6 separate regions of the Homo sapiens genome follow, and all the other regions are linked to region 2. Evidence: promoter capture Hi-C in 16 types of primary human blood cells and fetal thymus (Javierre and others, 2016). All regions are on one chromosome and are shown on one strand. The core of a region is centred on a gene start or on the middle of the fragment in contact, and the rest is flanking DNA. Distances in the headings are between cores, read along the strand shown. Region 1 holds the start of DTX1 (deltex E3 ubiquitin ligase 1). Region 2 holds the start of PLBD2 (phospholipase B domain containing 2). Region 3 holds the start of OAS3 (2'-5'-oligoadenylate synthetase 3). Region 4 holds the start of OAS2 (2'-5'-oligoadenylate synthetase 2). Region 5 has its middle 19 kb from the start of DTX1. Region 6 overlaps DTX1 (deltex E3 ubiquitin ligase 1).

Evidence for each region. The method cuts DNA at HindIII sites, captures the fragments that hold promoters and counts their contacts. A CHiCAGO score of 5 or more calls a contact.
Region 1: a contact is called between the fragment with the promoter of DTX1 here and the fragment with the promoter of PLBD2 in region 2, in 4 of 17 cell types (naive CD4 T cells, activated CD4 T cells, naive CD8 T cells and 1 more). The highest score is 7.2, in naive CD4 T cells.
Region 3: a contact is called between the fragment with the promoter of OAS3 here and the fragment with the promoter of PLBD2 in region 2, in 4 of 17 cell types (total CD4 T cells, activated CD4 T cells, naive CD8 T cells and 1 more). The highest score is 7.0, in total CD4 T cells.
Region 4: a contact is called between the fragment with the promoter of OAS2 here and the fragment with the promoter of PLBD2 in region 2, in 5 of 17 cell types (naive CD8 T cells, activated CD4 T cells, total CD4 T cells and 2 more). The highest score is 6.8, in naive CD8 T cells.
Region 5: a contact is called between a fragment that was not itself captured here and the fragment with the promoter of PLBD2 in region 2, in 2 of 17 cell types (naive B cells and total CD4 T cells). The highest score is 5.6, in naive B cells.
Region 6: a fragment that was not itself captured here is called in contact with the fragment with the promoter of PLBD2 in region 2 in 1 of 17 cell types (fetal thymus); the score reaches 5.2 in fetal thymus.

The regions. Positions count from the first base shown.
Region 1 is chr12:113,054,842-113,058,109 of GRCh38, forward strand. DTX1 (deltex E3 ubiquitin ligase 1) reads left to right here and starts at 1,889. Exons shown (of 10, transcript NM_004416.3): 1 at 1,889-2,103; 2 at 2,608-3,268. RefSeq lists an enhancer at 3,127-3,268. The HindIII fragment of the contact is 5,893 bases long and covers 1,392-3,268 here.
Region 2 is chr12:113,356,570-113,359,871 of GRCh38, forward strand. PLBD2 (phospholipase B domain containing 2) reads left to right here and starts at 2,018. Exons shown (of 12, transcript NM_173542.4): 1 at 2,018-2,321. The coding sequence starts at 2,032. LOC105369989 (a long non-coding RNA gene) reads right to left here and starts at 2,941. Exons shown (of 3, transcript XR_945346.3): 1 at 2,761-2,941. RefSeq lists silencers at 1,832-2,331, 2,382-2,441 and an enhancer at 2,777-3,276. The HindIII fragment of the contact is 3,133 bases long and covers 555-3,302 here.
Region 3 is chr12:112,936,577-112,939,746 of GRCh38, forward strand. OAS3 (2'-5'-oligoadenylate synthetase 3) reads left to right here and starts at 1,898. Exons shown (of 16, transcript NM_006187.4): 1 at 1,898-2,131. The coding sequence starts at 1,955. RefSeq lists enhancers at 1,517-1,686, 1,581-1,890, 1,854-2,023, 2,447-2,616 and a silencer at 2,111-2,200. The HindIII fragment of the contact is 11,275 bases long and covers 1-3,170 here.
Region 4 is chr12:112,976,611-112,979,979 of GRCh38, forward strand. OAS2 (2'-5'-oligoadenylate synthetase 2) reads left to right here and starts at 1,909. Exons shown (of 10, transcript NM_002535.3): 1 at 1,909-2,175. The coding sequence starts at 1,999. RefSeq lists enhancers at 1,454-2,263, 2,484-2,563, 2,734-2,813, 2,924-3,073. The HindIII fragment of the contact is 12,087 bases long and covers 1-3,369 here.
Region 5 is chr12:113,036,122-113,039,251 of GRCh38, forward strand. No RefSeq gene overlaps it. Among named protein-coding and RNA genes, the nearest start is that of DTX1, 19 kb to the right of the region's middle. The HindIII fragment of the contact is 3,927 bases long and covers 1-3,130 here.
Region 6 is chr12:113,094,642-113,097,830 of GRCh38, forward strand. It overlaps DTX1 (deltex E3 ubiquitin ligase 1), which reads left to right. Exons shown (of 10, transcript NM_004416.3): 7 at 148-306; 8 at 401-562; 9 at 684-773; 10 at 2,074-3,189. The coding sequence ends at 2,298. Among named protein-coding and RNA genes, the nearest start is that of DTX1, 40 kb to the left of the region's middle. RefSeq lists an enhancer at 2,851-3,189. The HindIII fragment of the contact is 6,635 bases long and covers 1-3,189 here.

The DNA.
Region 1 (3,268 bases), core at 639-3,138, 300 kb before region 2:
GCCTTTCTGAGCTTCAGGAGGTTTTTTGTTTCCTTGTGTAAAATGAGGACAACATTACCTTCCTTGTGGGGCAGTTATGAAGAGTAGTAAGTATTATTTAAGTGCCTGGCACATAATAGGCACTCAGTAAATGACACCCTTATGTAATGGGGCACCAGCCACACCACACCAAGATGAATATGATGGCTATCTCACTCTAGCAGGGACAGATTTCATTTAAGAGGCTAATTGTGATACAGGGTGTCATGTCAAGGTATGGGCAAAGGAACACAGAGGAAGATGGGGTGAATTCAGGAAAGGCTTCCTGGAGGAGGTGACATTTAATCAGACCTTAAATAGCATTCGACAGGAAGTCCAGAGACACGAGTTCTTCTTTCCAATTTGCTGCTAAATCACCATGCGACCTTGAGCCAATCTCTTCTCCACTGTGGGATCCCCAGATCCTTCTACAACATAAGCTGGTTGAGCACCTGCTCTGAATCCGTTCAGTCACAGTCTCCTGTGAGAAGAATCTGCTGACAGCCAGAGCCCTTCTTCCCAGACATACAAGACACACAATGCCTAGACACACAAGTTTGCCTGTAATGGGAGAGGGGGACTTCATGGACCCCAGAAGGCCATCCAGGGACCCTAGGCTAAAATCCCAGAACTCAGTGATCCTGTGGGAGTATCGTCAGACTTGGCCCTGCCCTATGCAAAGCCTCTCTCTTTAGTCTACAGCAGGTGAAAGCAAGCAGAATCATTGACCCAATCTGAAAAAGCCCATCCAACACTGGGCTGCAGGTCAGAGCAGGGGCCTGGGGAGGGGAGGTCCCTCCAGCTGGCCGGAGAGCCAGAGCTGGATTCTGGGAAAGCACCCCTGAGCAGCCTGCCCCTGACCCTGCCTAGTGTATCCCCATCTGCCCCGGGGAGGCAGGCGTGGGCTGCTCTGGGCAGGCGCCCAAACAGGCCACTGACCCCCGTCAGCCACCCAGGCTGGAGTTCCCGGACGCATCCTTCATCTTCCCCAATCTAAACACCCCCAGGCCCCAGGTGGTCCACCCCCCTCCCAGCCAATGTGTGTCTCAGCCGCATCCAGCTTGCTGGAGGACAGGGGGACTGGCCATCCCGTTAACACTTGAGCCGCTGCCATTTCCAGCCTTCCCTTCCATCCAACCAATGCTCACCCACCATTTATTGAGCACCAGTTGTTTGCAGGTGGCTGTGAATGACATGGCAGAGGGCCTGCCCTTCTCTTCCTCCAGGATCTCACCTCCTGGCCAGGGTCCCCTCCCCTGGTCCCACCCCTCTCACCTGGAGCAGGTGGGTGCTTTGGGGGAAGTGGGCTCAGGGCTGGGAACTGGGTACTGGCAGGAGATTCAGATCGGGGTTGGTGTCTGGGCATCGCTCTAAGCTTTTGTGATCCTGGGCCTGGCTCTTACTCTCTCTGGCTTCAGTCTCCTCATCTGTACTCTTCAGATTCCACGGTTCCAACTGAGTCTGAATCAGGCCTTGTCAGCACCCTCCCACCCCCAGGAATAGTTAGAGGAGGAAAGGAGGCTAGCTCTGAATGCTTCAAGATCTTTCTTTAGACAGTCTCTGGATCTTATTCATTCATTCAAGCATTTATTGAGCACCTATTCAGTGCCAGGCCCTGGACTGGGAGACTGGAAATAAAGATGACAAAGATTCAAGCCGGTGACTCCTAAACATCCCACTCCCTGCCTCACGCTCTGCTTGGGGTCAGAAGGCCCCTTGGGGTCTCGGGAGGGCCTGGCCGAGGATTTGGGGCGCCCCGAGACTCGCGTGTCAGCGCCGGTGGCGCTCAGGGCCGAGATCTGTCTCCTCCCCTTCCTCCTCCTCCGCCCCCTCCCCTCTCCCTCCCGGAGCACGGCCGAGGCCTCCTCCCACCCGCGAGATCCCGGCGGCCGCCAGCCGGCTCCTGCGTCCGTCCGTCGGCCGGGCAGTCTGTCCACGCGCGGAAAGCTCGGCGCGGCGGCCGAGGGGCCTGGGAGGGAACGGGCGCGGAGGCGGGACCGCGGCTCCCTCCCACTCCGGGGGGAGCCCAGGAGGCGGCGGTGCTGGAGCGCGAGCCGGAGCCGGAGCCGGAGACGAAGAGAGGCGGTGAGAACGCGGGTGCTTAGGGACCCCACCCCCGGCTCCCGCTGGGGGCCCGCGAGCGGCTCGGGGACGTCTGGGCTGGGGAAGCGGGGCTGTTACCCCCAGGGCGGGAGGCAGAGACGATCCAGCTCCTGGCTTCGCCCCCTCCGCGACGCGACCCCCGAGGGGCCCTGGGCCGCGCCTGCAGCGCCGCGCATCCCCGTGCTTCCCGGCGCACCCCAGCGCACCCGGCATCCCCCCGGCAGGGCGAGGGCCCCGGGGGAAGGGAAGGCTCCGGGAGCCAAGGAGGGCGCCCCCCAGGCGGAGAGTCTCGGAAAACCGCGCCCCCGGCCCCTGCCTTCCCTCCAGGCCTGCCCCAAGGGAAAGCGGGCGGGGCGACCCCGTACGCCCCCCTTGCTGTCCCCCTTCGGTTCCCCATTGTTCTCAGCCGAATGCTCTCCTGGGAAGGGGGGAGGGGGTGCTGCGCTCTCCTCTTAAAGGGCCCTCTCCCCTCTTGTCTCCTGGCAGGTCGCGAGCACGAGTGGGGTGGGGCGTGCCCACGGGCCCCCGCCCCCCTCGTCCCCCTCGTCCCCCAGCCCAGCTCCGGAGCCGCAGTCCAGGCGCGCCGCCCGAGGGTCCACGCCGCACCCCTCCCCCGTGCGTTCTGCGGCCACCCAGGCCTTCCAGGACACCGTGGAGAGGGAACAAGGGGGCAGGGACGCCCCCTTCGGCAGGAGCCGTCGGAGAAGGGGGCCCAGACCGGAGGGAGGCGAGAAGCCCCACTGAAGCCGGGCGCAGGGTCTGGGACGCAGTTGGGAGTGCAAAGGGCTGGCTGAGAGCCGCAGGAGCAGCAGGCTGTGGCCCAGGCCTCCTGGGTGACAGGCCCTGTCTGGCGGGGAAGAGGGACCAAGAGACAACACGGAAGAGGCTGGACCTCGAACAGGGGCGGCTGCCTCACTCCCTACCTGAGCCAGCCGAGGGGGCCAAGGACTTTAGAGCTGTTTCCTCCGGCATAAGAGAGACACTTGCTTTCCAGGGCAGCACCCTTTATCGGAGAAGGCTCTACAGGGAAGGGGTCTTTGCAGCCTGGATGGCCATCCCACATTCCTTTAACGGAGGTCTCTAGGCCTCAGAGAGAACCCAGAGTTAGAAAGGAGGCCAGACGGTCCTTGCTGTCCCCCTGGGGAGA
Region 2 (3,302 bases), core at 768-3,267:
CTCTCTTTCCTTTTTGACAACTTCTTGCTCTGTTGCCCAGGCTGTAGTGCAACTCACTGTAGCCTCGACTTCCTAGGCTCAAGCAATCCTCCCCCCTCGGCCTCCCAGTAGCTGGGACTGAGGCAGAAATTAAAATAATAATAATAATAAGTACTACATATATTCACTCCAAGAGAAGTAAGAGCTAAGGCCCAGAATGTGGCAAGGCAAGGGTTAAAAAAGAAGAAGAACAAGTTTTCCTCTGCTTAGCAGCTCACTTCAAGGACAGTTATAAGATAACGCTGTCCGAAAAGCCAAGGCCAGAGGACTGGGCTCCAGACCCCGCCCTCCACCCCACCGCCCGCCTCCAGAGCAAGGTTGAAGGAAAAAAAAGAGAGAAAGACAAATTATTTTATTGCTATTCCTTTCCTTGGTCTCTTAAGCATGACTATGTTTTACAAACCTCTCTATTTAGCCAGTTCTTGTTTTACTTTTGATGCAGCTACAAGGCCACCAGCTATGCAAGGCCACAAGTTATGCACTATATGATTAACTACTTTTGTTTTACCTTTCTAAGCTTGCTTATAAAAACCCCACAATATCTTTGTTCTAGGCTCAGCTTTTTGGATGTGAATCCACTGAGCCAGTGCGTACGTTGAAATAAACATCCTCCTGTTCTCTCATATTGGTCTCTCCGTTCCTCAGTTTCCCACAACAGGACTACAGGTGTGCACCACCAAGCTCAGCTAATTTTTATATTTTATAGAGACAGAGTCTTGCCAGGTTTCCTAGGCTGGTCTCAAACTCCTGGGCTCAAGCATTCCTCCCACCTTGGCCACCCAAAGTGCTGTGATTACAGGCATGAACCACTCACCTGGCCTTCCCTCTCAAATTTTAAGAGTTCCTGATATATTATATGATATATGTTGAGATATATATACATATATATATGTAATGTATATATATGATATATGTTGCAAATAGTTTCTCCTGGTCTGTCAGATGTCTTTTGACTTTGCTTATTGAGTTTTTTGACATGAAAAAGTTAAAAAATTTATACAGTCAAATGCATTAATCTTTTATTGCATCTAGGTTTTTTTTTTTTTTTTTTTCTTTTGAGACAAGGTCTCATTCTGGTTGCTCAGGCTGGAGTGCAGTGGTGCAATCTCGACTCTCTGCAGCCTCGACCTTCCGGGCTCAGGTGATTTTCCTACCTCAGTCTCCCGAGTAGCTGGGACTATAGGCGCGCCTCACTGCGTCCGGCTACTTTTTTGTATTTTTAGTAGAGACGGGGGTTTCACCATGTTGCCCAGGCTGGTCTTGAACTCCTGAACTCGCCCGCCCTGGCCTCCTGGAGTGTTGGGATTACAGGCGTGAGCCACCGCGCCCGACGGCATCTAGGTTTTGAGTAGTAGTTAGACAGCTTTTTCCCACACACATGTAAAAAGGGTATTTGAGGGACAATGGGAAAAGTTGGAATAAAGACTGCATTAGATAACTGTATTAAATAAATGGCAAATACCATTAAATAAATCTGGCCGGGCGCGGTGGCTCACCCCTGTAATCCCAGCACTTTGGGAGGCTGAGGCAGGCGGATCACCTGAGGTCAGGAGTTCAAGACCAGCCTGGCCAACATGGCGAAACCCCGTCTGTACTGAAATTACATAAATCAGCTGGGCGTGGTGGTGCGCGCCTGTAATCCCACCTACTCAGGAGGATGAGGCAGGAGAATCGCTTGAACCCGGGAGGCGGAGGTGGCAATGAGCCGAGATCGCGTCACTGCACTCCAGTCTGGGCGACATATGGAGGTTTTGTCTTGTCTCAAAAAAAAAAAAAAAAAAAAACTTGGGGAAGTGTGCTAAACCGGGTTTGCGTAGGTGGAAGGGGCGGCCGGGCTCTTTAAGGTGGGTCCCGCCCCGTAGGCCTCCCCTCGCGCCAGCCCCTCCCATCCCGGAAAGGCTCAGCCCAAGCCCGGCCCCGCCCGCCCTCGGCCCCGCCCATGGCAGAGCGCAGTCACGTGACCCGGGCTGCGGGGCGCAGCATTGTGCGGTCATGGTGGGCCAGATGTACTGCTACCCCGGCAGCCACCTGGCCCGGGCGCTGACGCGGGCGCTGGCGCTGGCCCTGGTGCTGGCCCTGCTGGTCGGGCCGTTCCTGAGCGGCCTGGCGGGGGCGATCCCAGCGCCGGGGGGCCGCTGGGCGCGCGATGGGCAGGTCCCTCCAGCCTCCCGCAGCCGCTCGGTGCTCCTGGACGTCTCGGCGGGCCAGCTGCTTATGGTGGACGGACGCCACCCTGACGCCGTGGCCTGGGCCAACCTCACCAACGCCATCCGCGAGACTGGGTAAGGGTTGGCTTATCCCCACGCGGGGCCATCGGGGGAGGGGGATGCGTGGGCGCCGGACCTCGCCTGTTCCCGGGACCGGCCTCTTGCCGGGTGGGAACGCCCGTTTCTCTGGGGGTCAGCTACTCCCGAGGCTGCAGCACCGCCCTGCGGGCCAAGTACCCTGTTTGGGAGCTGGCTACTGCGGCATCCCTCACCTCATGGGGCCAGTCCCTTGCCTTCAGCCAGTGGTGACAGTACTTCTGTCCCCAAGAAGCCAGTTCCCTACCACCGAGGCCGCAGTGCCTGCATCTGGATCAGGTCCATGGCTGGTGGGTAAATTCTATCCTCACGGGGACCTGCTCCCTTCCCTAGACTTTGCCTCCTCACCCCATGGAGGCCAGCCCCCTGTCCCCAGGCCTGAGGGGTGATGAGAACTCAGCAGGAGACTAATTCTTACCTGCTTGGCTGTGGCTTGCTCGTGGGTGCCAGCACCCTGCCTCCCTTCCAGTGCCAGGTCAGCAGGACTGAACCTGGGTTCCAGGCTAGTCCAAAAGCAGAGGGTCCCTAAAGTCACATAGACCCATTTAGTATCCTGCTAGGGCTCTGCTCCTCCCTTGTCTTCTGTGTCCTGGTCCAAGGGGAAGTCCTTGGCTGGATGCCGTGTTTGGCAGCCATGCTCACCATCTTTATTGCTGGAACCCAGGCTGTCATTCTGATGTGTGAGTCTCACCTAACTCCTCCGCCTGTCTGGGCTCCCGTTTCCCCATCTGTGGCCCAGATTTTGAGGATGTGCTCTAGTTGGGTGGTCATGTGCTGCAAGTTCTGTACAAGGGCTTGTGCCCATTCATTTATTCATTACCCTGATGGTTGGCCTTAGGGACACAGCTGAGCAGCTGTCTCTACTCAGTGGGAAACACAGACAGCGATAGAAGAGAAATCAGAGTCAGTGGGAGTGGGAAGGATCAGCTTCAAAGCCTTGTCAGCAGGGCCCAGACGCTG
Region 3 (3,170 bases), core at 648-3,147, 420 kb before region 2:
TAACCTAGGGTCCCTTCTTTTCCTTCAATCCACTGCCTGGAGCCTGCAGCTCCTCAGAGCCTTTCCACTCTGCATAGGTACCCCCTCCTTTATGTGTTTTGGCTGCAATTTCCTCCTTCATCCAGTCTCATATCTCTGACAGGGATCTCAGATTCCAGTTTACCTGGGACACCTCTGGTTAGGACCCAGCAACATTATTAAAGTTTTTCTATCGCTTTCCTGCCACCTCTAGAGGCCTGGGATGGACGTTGAAGGCTTATGCATATGTTCAGTCCACCATCATGACCCAATATTGACCCTTCTGCGTTCCATCTTCTAAAAATGCCTCAAATGTCCCGCCCCCTTGACTCCACTTTTTCTCAGTTTCCAACCCTGTTGATTTCCATTATGCTTTTAATATATCTTTGCTGCTATTTTAATAGAATTTTGAGCATGTGTTCAATCCACTATCTTGAATGGAAAGTTTCTAAAGTGGCCTGTGACTCAGGAAGAAGACTGTGATTAATGGGCGAGAATGAAAATCATTGCTCAATCCCTTGACTTAAATCCCCACCACAACACCTGACCTACAAAACCTGCCCATACTTGAATATTCCAAGTGATGCAGCATTCACTACTCAAAATATTAGCTGGTGTACATATTACAGACCCAGCATCTCTCCCTCTAGTTGACCATGACCTCTGAAATTCACACTCTGATCCTATCTATTTCCTTTCAGTTACCGTGCAGATGTCAGGAAGCACTTGTTAAGACTATTACCTGAAGTGTACTCAGAGGCAGAGTAAATGCTGGGTCCCGGAGCAGACAGGAGAGAGGACCTGGGAGTTTTTTAGTAAGATGGGGAGGAGGAGATAGGCTATGGCTTGGACCAGGCCTGGAAGAGAGCTCAGGTGTGCAGTCTCTAGGAACCCGGGTGGAGAAGCAGCAGGAAATAAGCAGAAAAAGGAGACAGGCCATGAAGATAGAAGCGCAATGGTCCTGGATTCAAATCTCCACTCTGCAGCTTATAGCTTACAGTCCGCTTAGCTTTGTGCCCATTCCAAGAGGATTTCCCTATTGTAGCTTTACAATGTTTTAATATGTAGTATTGTTGTGCAAGGTACCATCCTAAACTGACTGACTTTCCTTCCTCCTTCTCCTCCAAAATAATTTTTAATTCTTGCAGACAGACTTTAGATCGTGTGTTTGAAGTTTTTAAAGATGGAATTTTTATTGGAACTGCATTACACGTATAAATTATTTAGGAAGAGTTGGCTTCTGAAGAGGGCAGCTCTGTGGGCTTGGGCTGGGTTTGAATCCAGCCAGACAACTTTCCAGCTGTGTTACCTTGGACAGTTACCTAGTTCCTCTGTACCTTGACTTCCTCATCTGTCAAATGGGTGATGATAATAGCACCTACACCATGGTCGTTGGGAGGAGTCAGTGAGAGTCTCCAAGTGTGCTTTATTATCGTTGGTGGTGGTAGTGGTGTTTAGAACGCATCCCTCAGTCAGACAGCGAGGTAGGACTTCTCCGTTTATTAAATCCTGACCTTTTTTTTCCATGTAAAACCTGCACGTTTCTGAAATGCTCAGAGTACGTTACTCAGTATGTACCCATATGTTCTGTGGGTATACTTTGTTAGGTTGTGATTAGTTCGTTGGAGCTGGTGGTTGCAGGGACGGCTGGAAGCAAGGAGATGAAGGAGAGGAAGTCGTAGCTGGGAAGGGGACCAGGAAGTGGGTGTCAGGTCCAAGAGCTGCTAGAAAGAAACGAAACTGAAAGCAGGGAATTTCCCAAGTTTGGGGAAGACAGGAACTGCAGCGCCCCTCCCCGTTTCACGCCACGCGCGGGACCGAGGACCTAGGACCTGGCCAGCTGGGCGTGGTTCGGAGAGCCGGGCGGGAAAACGAAACCAGAAATCCGAAGGCCGCGCCAGAGCCCTGCTTCCCCTTGCACCTGCGCCGGGCGGCCATGGACTTGTACAGCACCCCGGCCGCTGCGCTGGACAGGTTCGTGGCCAGAAGGCTGCAGCCGCGGAAGGAGTTCGTAGAGAAGGCGCGGCGCGCTCTGGGCGCCCTGGCCGCTGCCCTGAGGGAGCGCGGGGGCCGCCTCGGTGCTGCTGCCCCGCGGGTGCTGAAAACTGTCAAGGTGAGGTCCCACCTCGGGGTCTTTATGTGTCCAAAGGGGAGTCCTGGGAGGACGCTTAAGCCTCACATAGGCTTACGGTGGGGGTGGCTTTATCCGCTTGTGCACCTCATTCATTTCTTTAACAAATACTTCCAATGTGCCAGCCCCGTGCTAACTCCCCCGAACATACGAGCCAGGTAGGTACTCTTAAGCCCGCTTGACAGATAGAGAAAATGAGGCACAGAGAGGTACAGTGACGTGTCCGATCCTGTAAGAGGCCCAGCCAGGATTCAAATCCAAGTAGCCTGATTCCTGCATCTCTACTCTCAGAGGCTGCTTCTTATCCATTCATTCACTCATTCACTCATTCTCCCAGTCATTCAAACAGACTGTGGGCCTCACACTATGCCAGACCTTAAGGTTACAGAAGTAATAACACTCCGCGTAACAGCCAGAGTAGCCCAATTTATTGAGACATTATCAAATAACAATGAAAATTATCTCATTAAATGAGTATTACCTCATTTCATCCCCACGTTCAGTGAGGCAGGTATTATTGTACCTGTTTTATGGATAGGGAAACTGAGGCTAGACGCTAAATTACTACTCTGAGTCACATCTTTTTTTTTTTTTTTTTTTTTTTTTTTTTTTGAGACAGGGTCTCGCTCTGTCACCCAGGCTGGAGTGCAGTAGCATGATCTTGGCTCACAGCAACCTCCGCCTCCTGGGCTCAAGTTATTCTCACACCTCAGCCTCCCAAGTAGCTGGCACTACAGGTGCACACTACCATGCCTGGCTAATTATTTGCATTTTTTGTAGAGATAGAGTTTTGCCGTGTTGCCCAGGCTGGCCTGGAACTCCTGGGCTCAAGTGATCCACTTGCCTTGGCCTTTCAAAGTGCTGGGATTACAGGTGTGAGCCACCATGCCCAGGTAATTTTTGCATTTTTTGTAGAGACGGGATTTCACCATGTTGCCCAGGCTCCGGGTCACTTTTTGTCACTTAAATACAGCCACACTGCCACTGTGATCCCAGGACACTCGCAGATTCAGGGAGGAGA
Region 4 (3,369 bases), core at 659-3,158, 380 kb before region 2:
ATGGTGGTGCATGCCTATAGTCCCAGCTACTCAGGAGGCTGAAGTAGGAAGATTGCTTGAGCTTGGGAGGGTGAGGCTACAGTGAGCTATAATCACGCCACTGCACTCCAGCCTGGGTGACAGAGTGAGACTCTGTCTCAAAAACAAAACAAAACAAAAACCTCCTAAAATGTATAAATAGCAAGAAAATGAGGGGCAAATGTGGTAAAAAATATAATGGCTAAAAAGTCTAAGGAAGTTCTTTGTGTGCATCTTGTAAATTTTCTCAGCATTTCAAATTACTTCAAAATAAAGTGTTTTTTTAAATAACAAATAAAGCACAGGCTTTGGAGTCAGGCAGTGTGTTAGTGTGAGAACCTAGCCTGACAACTTCCTAGCTGTGTGATCACGGGCAAATGTTTCCACCTTTGTGAGCCTCCATGTTCTCATCTGAAAAAGGAACCTTAGGACTACGCCTGCCCAGCCTGCCTACCTCTCGGTGTTGCAGTAAAAGTTGGATAAGGGCAGGAAAGGCCCTTAATGAGCATGTGCATTAATCGAGGTTTTTCCAGAACTAACAGGGTATTTATATTTATTTTGAGGTATTTATTTTAAGGAATTGGCTCATGTGATTGTGGAGGCTGGCAAATCCAAAATCGGCAGGGTAGACTGGCAGGTGGGAGACCCAGGAAGGAGTTGCTGCTGCAAGTGGAGGCCAAGGCACTGCAGCCGAATTCCCTCTTCCTTGGGGGAGCTCAGTCTTTAGTCTATTAAGGCCTTCAACTGATTGAATCAGGCCCACCACCTTACAGATGATAATCCACTTTACTCAAAAAAAAAGTCTACCAATGTAAATGTTAATCTTATCTTTAAAAAATACCTTCACAAAAAGATCTAGGATAATGTTTGACCAAATATCTGGGTACCTGGGCTCAGCCAACTTGACACATAAAATTAACCATCCCAGTATGGAAGGGCCCTGGTCCCCCACTACATCTTGGAGATTTTTGCCTTCTCTGTGAATTATTATTGCTGGGCCAAGGCAGCTGGCTGGGAGTCCTCTGCGAGTTTTGTTTTCAAAGCTCTGGGCACAGGAGTTGCATGTCTGTCTCCTTTCTGGCTCACACACTTGGGGTGTGTTTTCTTGCCCTTGCGAGGCTGGACAAGTGCCTCATACGGTCCCTCGGCTGTCCACAAGTGTGCTGAGAAACTGGACACACAGAGGTTCCCACCCGCTGACCACACGGGGGCCTGTGTTTACCCAGAAGCAGACCAAAACCTGAGTCCAGCTAGGTCCCTGCTTTGCTGTGTGTCCCTGAGCAAGTCAGTTCCCTCTCTGGGTCTCTTTTTCCTCTCTGCCGCTTTCCCTGAATGTGAGTTCCCTGGCCACTGAGAACAGGGGGAAAGGGACAGAGCCTCAAAAGATGACCTGTGCGCCCCTGCTTCTAAGCACTTTGCAGGTATTATTTAATCATCAAGCTAATCCTACGAGAGAGCTGCCATTTTCCCCCAGCTTACAGATGGGGGAATTGAGGCGCGAAGAGGGCAGGCGATGTGCTCAAGGACAGACATCTAGCAGGTATGAAGCCCTCACAATGGGGTTCTAGAGGCTGTTTAGTTAACCTCAAGTTTTGGGGAGCCCCTGAAGGGCTGGTCACCACGCTGCCGGGGACAGGGAAAGCCTCTGAGCTTGAGTCAGTTTTGGTTTCCCTGCTGGGGTGCAGGAGTCAGTAAACCTTGCTGCAAGGGGCGGGGAAGAGCATTTGAGCTTAAGTTAGTTTTGGTTTCCCTGCCCCGGATGCAGGAGTTGGTAAACTCACTGCAAGGGGCAGGGCAGAGCCTCTGAGCTTAAGTTAGTTTTGTTTCCCTGTCCCGGATACAAGAGTTGGTAAGCTCGCTGCAGTGGGTGGAGAGAGGCCTCTAGACTTCAGTTTCAGTTTCCTGGCTCTGGGCAGCAGCAAGAATTCCTCTGCCTCCCATCCTACCATTCACTGTCTTGCCGGCAGCCAGCTGAGAGCAATGGGAAATGGGGAGTCCCAGCTGTCCTCGGTGCCTGCTCAGAAGCTGGGTTGGTTTATCCAGGAATACCTGAAGCCCTACGAAGAATGTCAGACACTGATCGACGAGATGGTGAACACCATCTGTGACGTCCTGCAGGAACCCGAACAGTTCCCCCTGGTGCAGGGAGTGGCCATAGTGAGTCCAGGGCTGAGGTTGGGTCTCTGGGAGGCAGGAGATTCCACGGCGGCAGCAAGGCCGAGCTACTGGGTGCTGGGTGCCTATTATGTGCGAGGCCCACACTTGGGTGGGATGTGGTGTAGGAGTCTCAGGCTCTGGAGCAGGCGCTTGCTCCAGAGCTGTGTGACACTGGGCAGGCTACTTAACCTCTCTGTGCCTCAGTCTCTGACTCTGTAAAATGGGGAGAGGCATAATACCCACTTCAGAGTATCGTAAGGCTTGAGCACATCATGTTCTTAGCAAAAGACTGGCAGTGCTCAGTGAATTCACTGTGATTACTCACTGCGATTTTCTTCTATCCTCTCCACAGTACAGAGGAGTAAACTTAGGGAGGCTAGAGAACTTTGTTCAAACTACCCAGGTTGCCTTGTGGTTTCTCCGCAGCAAGAAGGAGTGGCTTTTATCAGTTAGAAATATTTGGTTTTGTGGACACAAATCTCAGGACTGAGGCTGAAAATTCTGGACCTCTGGGGAGGAAGGGGGACTGGGGAGATGCCAGGACCCTAGAATTGGGGGCGTGGGGGTCCTGATGGCCCAATACTATCCTCTTAGCCTCCTGAGCTGCTGACGTCCCTTCTCTGCTGCTGCCACACTTTTTGGTCTCTACCCCTTGCACACATCCGCTAGTGCCTCAATAAAGAAATCTAGACACGTGGTGTCCCCAGCCCTGGCCCAGGCCAGCAAGCTAAGGCAAGTTTGGTTAATAGCTATTGTCAGAACTGGGATTTTAAGCCTGGGTAATTGGCTTGAGGGCATGCATGTTTAACCACTACACTATCCTGCCTCTCAATTTTTTTTTCCTCATGGAAGTAAAACAGAAAAAGTGCCCAGATCAAAGTGTCCAGCTTGATAGGTAGCCACAAACAATGTAACTGTGTAACCCCCACCCAGATCCAGAAACAAAACATTCTCAGCCCCCCAGAGCCCTGGGCCCCCGATCCAGTCAGCACCTCCAAACCCAGGTAGGCAATCTCCTGACTTCTAACAGCATAGACACGTTTTGCCTGTTTTTAAACGTTTTACAATTATAGGGTGACCAACTATCCCAGTTCATCCAAGATTGGGGTGTTTCCTGGGATGTGGGACTCTTGGTGTGAAAGCTGGGAATGTAAACCAGGATGCATGGGTGAACCCTACATAAATGGCATCATG
Region 5 (3,130 bases), core at 76-2,575, 320 kb before region 2:
CTTGAGGACAAGAGTTGGAGACCAGCCTGGGCAACATAGTGAGACCCCATCTCTACAAAAAATTTAACAATTTAGGTGGCTGTGGTGACATGAGTCTGTAGTCCCAGCTATTTAGGAGGTCGAGGAGGGAGGCTCGCTTGAGCCCAGGAGATCGAGGGTGCAGTGAGCCATGACTGTACTGCCGCACTCCAGCCTGGGTGATACAGCGAGACTCTGTCTCAAAACAAACAAACAAACAAACAAACAAAAAGTGTTAAGGCTATACCACCAGAGTGTTTAACCAAGGGCACTTCTGACTGAAGGGCTCTGTGTGACACAGTTGGGAAGCTGTCCCTGGCAGTAGCTAAGAACCTAGAGTGTTCAGGTAGAAGTCCAGAAGAAAGAAGAGGTGAGTGAGTGGCCCCCAGGTACCAGTGGGGTTCACATAGCTGAGAGGGACACAATCAACGGATGGACCCAACAGCCATCCCCACGCCTTCTCCCCTGCTGCTTCTCACTGCAGGGGCTGAAAACCTGAGTCTCTTCTCAGAGTCTTTCATAGCTAAAGGGGGCCTTGTGCTGGATCGCGATGCTGACGGATGGGACTGATGGAGAAATCTGCTAGGAGGTTTCAGAGAGTTTTTACTTTCCTGATAAAAGGAACAGCCTCAGCCACCACCACCCGGGTTCCCCTTATTTGCCCTTGATGCAATATCAGGTCTGTAGCTGCGACAGCCATTTAACAAGGACAAGGTGATGTGCATGCGACCCCACACGCTAAGTGTGGCAGTGCAGAAGCACCTGTGTATGTCCTCCATCACACGGTGGGCAGCCCATACAAAGCTAGCACCCGCCCACCTCCAGGTCTGTCTCCTACTGCCACCAAACCCACCTGTCCCCACCCTAACACCACCATCCTCCTTTGGGGCATAAACACCCCAGCCTGCACCCCCACCCAACTGAATTTACCAGGCCCAGGTCAAGCTCCAGCTTAATGCTAACTCATAACTTTTCCTTTTTTTTTTTTTTTTTTTGAGACAGAGTCTCGCTCTGTCGCACAGGCTGGAGTGCAATTGCAATGGCGCAATCTCGGCTCACTGCAACCTCCGCCTTCTGGGTTCAAGCAATTCTCCAGCCTCAGCCTCCCAAGTAGCTGGGATTACAGGCACCTGCCATCATGCCTGGCGTATTTTTAGTAGAGATGGGGTTTCACCATGTTGGCCAGGCTGGTCTCGAACTCCTGACCTCAGGTGATCTATCCACCTTGGCCTCCCAAAGTGCTGGCATTACGGGTGTGAGCCACCGCACCTGGCCCATAACTCTTCTTAAGGGCTCTTGGGAAATCCTGTTGGACTAAATACACTGGGTTACATCCCTATCTTATTTTTCACTCATCCAAAGCAAGCTAGGCTCAGCCCTGGGCATCCTGTCCAAAGCAGAGAGAACAAAAGCAGCTCACTCTTAGAGTGTTCTGTGTGCTCAGCTCGAAGTTTTCATTCATCCTCATTGGATCCTTGCCTATGAGGTAGGTATTTTCATCTCCATCTGACCGAGGGGGAAACTGAGGCTCAGAGCAGCTCTCTAACCCAAGGTCACTGCCCAGGTCTTGATCAGGAAGTATTCCCATGCTCACACCCTGGAATCCTCACTGTATAAGATTTGGGACCTCAACTCCGCTGGACGCTGGGGAGCCTCACTGTCTTCTACCTGCCTCCTCCTGCAGGCAACTAAAGGCTCACAGTCCTCCTGCAGTAAACAGTTCAGAAAGGCCCAGAGCCAAGGCAGAAACTTCATTAGCAAACCACATTTCAGGGGCACTATCGGGCCCTGCTGTTTCAAAGCTGCTCTGAGTCCCAATGTCCCTACTGATGGGCAATGCATGCCCCACTGTCCAGCTTGATTTAGAAGACTGAGATGGCCTCCTCCAGGAAGCCAGCAATGCTGCTCACTGCAGGCTGAGTGAAGAGGGATGGCCAGGGAAAAGAAGGAACCTGCTGCGGGCCCTGATCTGGCCCAGGCGAAGGTGACAAGAGCAGCTGCTATTTACCGAGCACTCACTTCCCTTGTGACAAGACCTGAGATAAGGGCCTCATAGCCCTGAATGCCTCCAAACTGCCCTCTAAGTTGAAGACCATTATTCACATTTTACAAATAGGGAAACTGAGGCCCAGGGAAGTTAAGTCCCTTGCCCAAAGAGCCTGCACAAACAAGCAGCCTGGCAGAATTCTACTCTGGGCCCCCTCAATCTCCAAATTCTCAGCTTTTAATTCTTTAACTCTATGGACTCCCAAAAACCTGGTTTTGGGTAGGACACCCTCTAGCTAAGATGTCACTTCGCACAGAGATAAGGTTATAATGGCCATGGGTAATCAAAAACAAAAATATTGACCAGGCACAGTGGCTCATGCCTGTAATCCCAGTACTTTAGGAGGCGGAGGCAAGCAGATCACTTGAGGCCAGGAGTTTGAGACCAACCTAGCCAACATGATGAAACCGTGTCACTACTAAAAATATAAAAATTAGCTGGGGGTGGTGGGGCACATTTGTAATCCCAGCTACTCAGGAGACTGAGGCAAGAGAATCACTTGAACCTGGGAGGTGGAGGTTGCAGTGAACCGAGATCGCACCACTGCACTCCAGCCTGGGTGACAGAGTGATTCTGTCTCAAAAAAAAGAAGGGAAAGAAAGAAAGAAAGAAAGAAAGAAAGAAAGAAAGAAAGAAAGAAAGAAAGAAAGAGAGAGAGAGAGAGAGAGAGAGAAAGAAAGAAAGAAAGAAAGAAAGAAAGAAAGAAAGAAAGAAAGAAAGAGAAAGAAAGAGAGAGAGAGAAAGAGAGAGAAAGAAAGAAAGAAAGAAAGAGAAAGAAAGAAAGAAGGGAGGGAGGGAGGGAGGAAAGAAAGAAAGAAAGAAAGAAAGAAAGAAAGAAAGAAAGAAAGGAGAAAGAAAGAAAGAGCTGTTCTCCCTTGAATGATAAGAAGCCCCCAAAGTCTTCCCACTGAGCCCTGAAGCCGGGGTGCAGCCCCCCCACCCAGGCTGGGTGCCTCCCATTGCAGTCATGCTGATTTAAGACCCAGAGAAAGACCCTCACCAACGGGGGTTACTTTCAGGACTGCCATAACAAAATACATAGACTGGGTGGCTTAGAAACTACAG
Region 6 (3,189 bases), core at 221-2,720, 260 kb before region 2:
GGCAGAGGGTGTGTCCTGTCTCCCTTTGCCAAATGGGTACCAGAGAGAGTGTGGTCTGCTGCCTATGGTGACCCACCAAGGGGCAGTGCTGACCCAGTAGGTGCCCTGCCCTCCCCAGTCCTCAGTCTCCCCTGCTGCCACCTGCAGGACTGCACCATCTGCATGGAGCGACTGGTCACAGCATCAGGCTACGAGGGCGTGCTTCGGCACAAGGGCGTGCGGCCTGAGCTCGTGGGCCGCCTGGGCCGCTGTGGCCACATGTACCACCTGCTGTGCCTCGTGGCCATGTACTCCAATGGCAACAAGGTGGGTTGGGCGGGACAATGGCTGAGGAGTGGGCAGGGAACGGAGTGGGGTTTGGGGGGGTGCTGGGAACTCACTGCCAGCCTCCCCTGCCCAGGATGGCAGCCTGCAGTGCCCCACCTGCAAGGCCATCTACGGGGAGAAGACGGGTACGCAGCCGCCTGGGAAGATGGAGTTCCACCTCATCCCCCACTCGCTGCCCGGCTTCCCTGATACCCAGACCATCCGCATCGTCTATGACATCCCCACAGGCATCCAGGTGGGCTCCCCTTCCGCCTCTCTGGCCCCCAGCCCCCACACCCCTCCAACTCCTCCAGATGCTTCTCCACCCTGCCACCACCTGTTCATGGTCTAAATCCCTGTACTGTCCCTCTCTGCAGGGCCCTGAGCACCCCAACCCCGGGAAGAAGTTCACCGCAAGAGGATTCCCTCGCCACTGCTATCTACCCAACAACGAGAAAGGCCGGAAGGTGGGTGCCCAGCCGTGAGGGCATGGGAGATAGGCACAGGCAGGGGCTCCAGCAACCACTGGCCTGGGCCTGTGGTCCCCATCATTCCCAATCCCTGCTCTCACATTCCTCCCAAAAGCAGCACCCGAACAGTAACGACCACAGCCACCTCCTTCACACATCTTATCTCGTTTCCTGAGCCACTGAGGTCAAGATCCTGACCCCATTTTATAGACAAAGACACAAGGCTTCAGAAAGGGCAAGTCACTTGACTGTGGTCACAGAGAAACTAAGTGGCGGAGCTGGGATTTGAGCCCAGGCAGTCCAAGCTGTCACCACCACCCTACAGGTTGTCTGATTTGACTTTCTGCTTTTCAAGAGCACCAAGAAATCCAGATTTTCATGGGAAATCTCTAGGCTTTTGAATGTTAGTAACTAATTTACAAGTGGCTCTTTAATATAGTGTGGAGTCCAAACTAAATAGAGCAGAGAGCTGCCAGATGCTTTCTTCACCCCAGAAAAAAACAGGCAGGGCCGGGTGTGGTGGCTCATGCCTCTAATCCCAGCACTTTGGGAGGCTAAGGCGGGCAGATCACGAGATCAGGAGTTTGAGACCAGCCTGGACAACATGGTGAAACCCCGTCTCTACTAAAAATACAAAAATTATCCGGAGTGGTGGAGTGCGCCTGTAGTCCCAGCTACCTGGGAGGCTGAGGCAGGAGAATTGCTTGAACTCAGGAAGCAGAGGTTGCACTGAGTCGAGATCACCCCACTGCACTCCAGCCTGGGTGACAGAGCAAGACTCCATCACAAAAAAAAAAACAGGCAGGCCAAGCGCAGTGGTGCACACCTGTAATCCCTGCACTTGGGGAGGCCGAGGTGGGAGGATCACTTGAGGCCAGGAGTTTGAGACCAATCTGGGCAACATAGTGAGACTTGGAGAGGCTGATGTGGGACGATTGTTGGAGCCCAGGAGTTCGAGGCTGCAGTGAGCTCTGGTTGCACTGCTGCACTCCAGCCTGAGCAACACAGCAAGACTCTGCCTCAAAAAAAAAAAAAAAAAAAAAAAGAAAAAGAAAAAAAAGAAAAGGAAAGAAAAGAAAAGAAAAAACAAACATAAGTAACTTGGAAAGAGCTTTTACTGGAAGTTCAGGAAATACAAATGCAAAGGAAATGGCCAAGCCAGCAGTACGTAGTTGGTGCTAATGGACGAAGCCATAAGGTAGCCATGATGTGGCAGGGGAGGGAGGGAGGCTGAGGCTGGTGGGCTGGAAGCTGCCTGTGACCTCCTCCCGGCCCCACTGTGTCCCTGTCCCCCCAGGTGCTGCGGCTGCTCATCACGGCCTGGGAGAGAAGACTCATCTTCACTATCGGCACGTCCAACACCACGGGCGAGTCGGACACCGTGGTGTGGAACGAGATCCACCACAAGACCGAGTTTGGATCCAACCTCACGGGCCACGGCTACCCGGACGCTAGCTACCTAGACAACGTGCTGGCTGAGCTCACAGCCCAGGGCGTATCCGAGGCTGCAGCCAAGGCTTGAGGCCCAAGGCTGCCCACCTTCCCTCCTGCTTTGCCCCTGGTCCGGCAAATGCCTCCTTCGCCAGGTGTGTCCTGGTAGCCCAGGTTCAGGGCTGGGGAGGAGCCTGCGGAAGGGGCCGCAGCCATTCAGGGGACCTGCCTGGTGGCAGCTGGGATGAAGAGAGATGGCATGTCAGGCTGGCCCCGAATCATAGCTCCCTGAGAGGGCCAAGCAGAGAGTACTGGAAACCTCCCTACCAAAAAGACAGAGACCCGCCCCCTCACACACAAACACACATGTCCTGTTGAACTCATGCACGCACACCCACGTGCCTGTACTTGCCCCCAGGCTGGAAGAGAAGAGACAGAAAGACCCCATGACCCCCCCATGTGGATCCCCATCTGTGTCTCAGTTGCATCTGTACAGCCTTGTCTGCAAACTGGAGGATGCGGGGCAAGCCCTTAGGGGCCTGCCAGGGCTCGGGGGGCAAAGAGGGACTCGGGAAACTCAGTGTACCCCAGATGCCTCACCCATTCCGTGTCATCACCCATGTCTGCCACCCACTGATTGGGCAATTGTGGGCCCATGGGGTGGAAGCCCCCAGATGACTGAGCAGTTCTACAAAAGAATGGCCAGCACGAGCGGGGACTAGAGGGTCCTGATTTTGTGTCTGTGCCTCTTCATCTCTCTGGACTCTGATCTCCTTCTCCCTTCCCATCTCCAGGCCTTCTGTCTGTCCCAGATAAAGGCGCTGTTCTCCCATCCTCCCTACCCCATCCTCTCCACCAAATCGCTCCCAATTTTGAGAGCCAAAGGCTGGCGCTTCTGACTTCAGGAGCGAAAGGAGGAGGCCTAGTTTGGGCCGATGTATTTTAAAGCAGAGTGGACAGCAGAGAGTCAATTTCCCTTTCG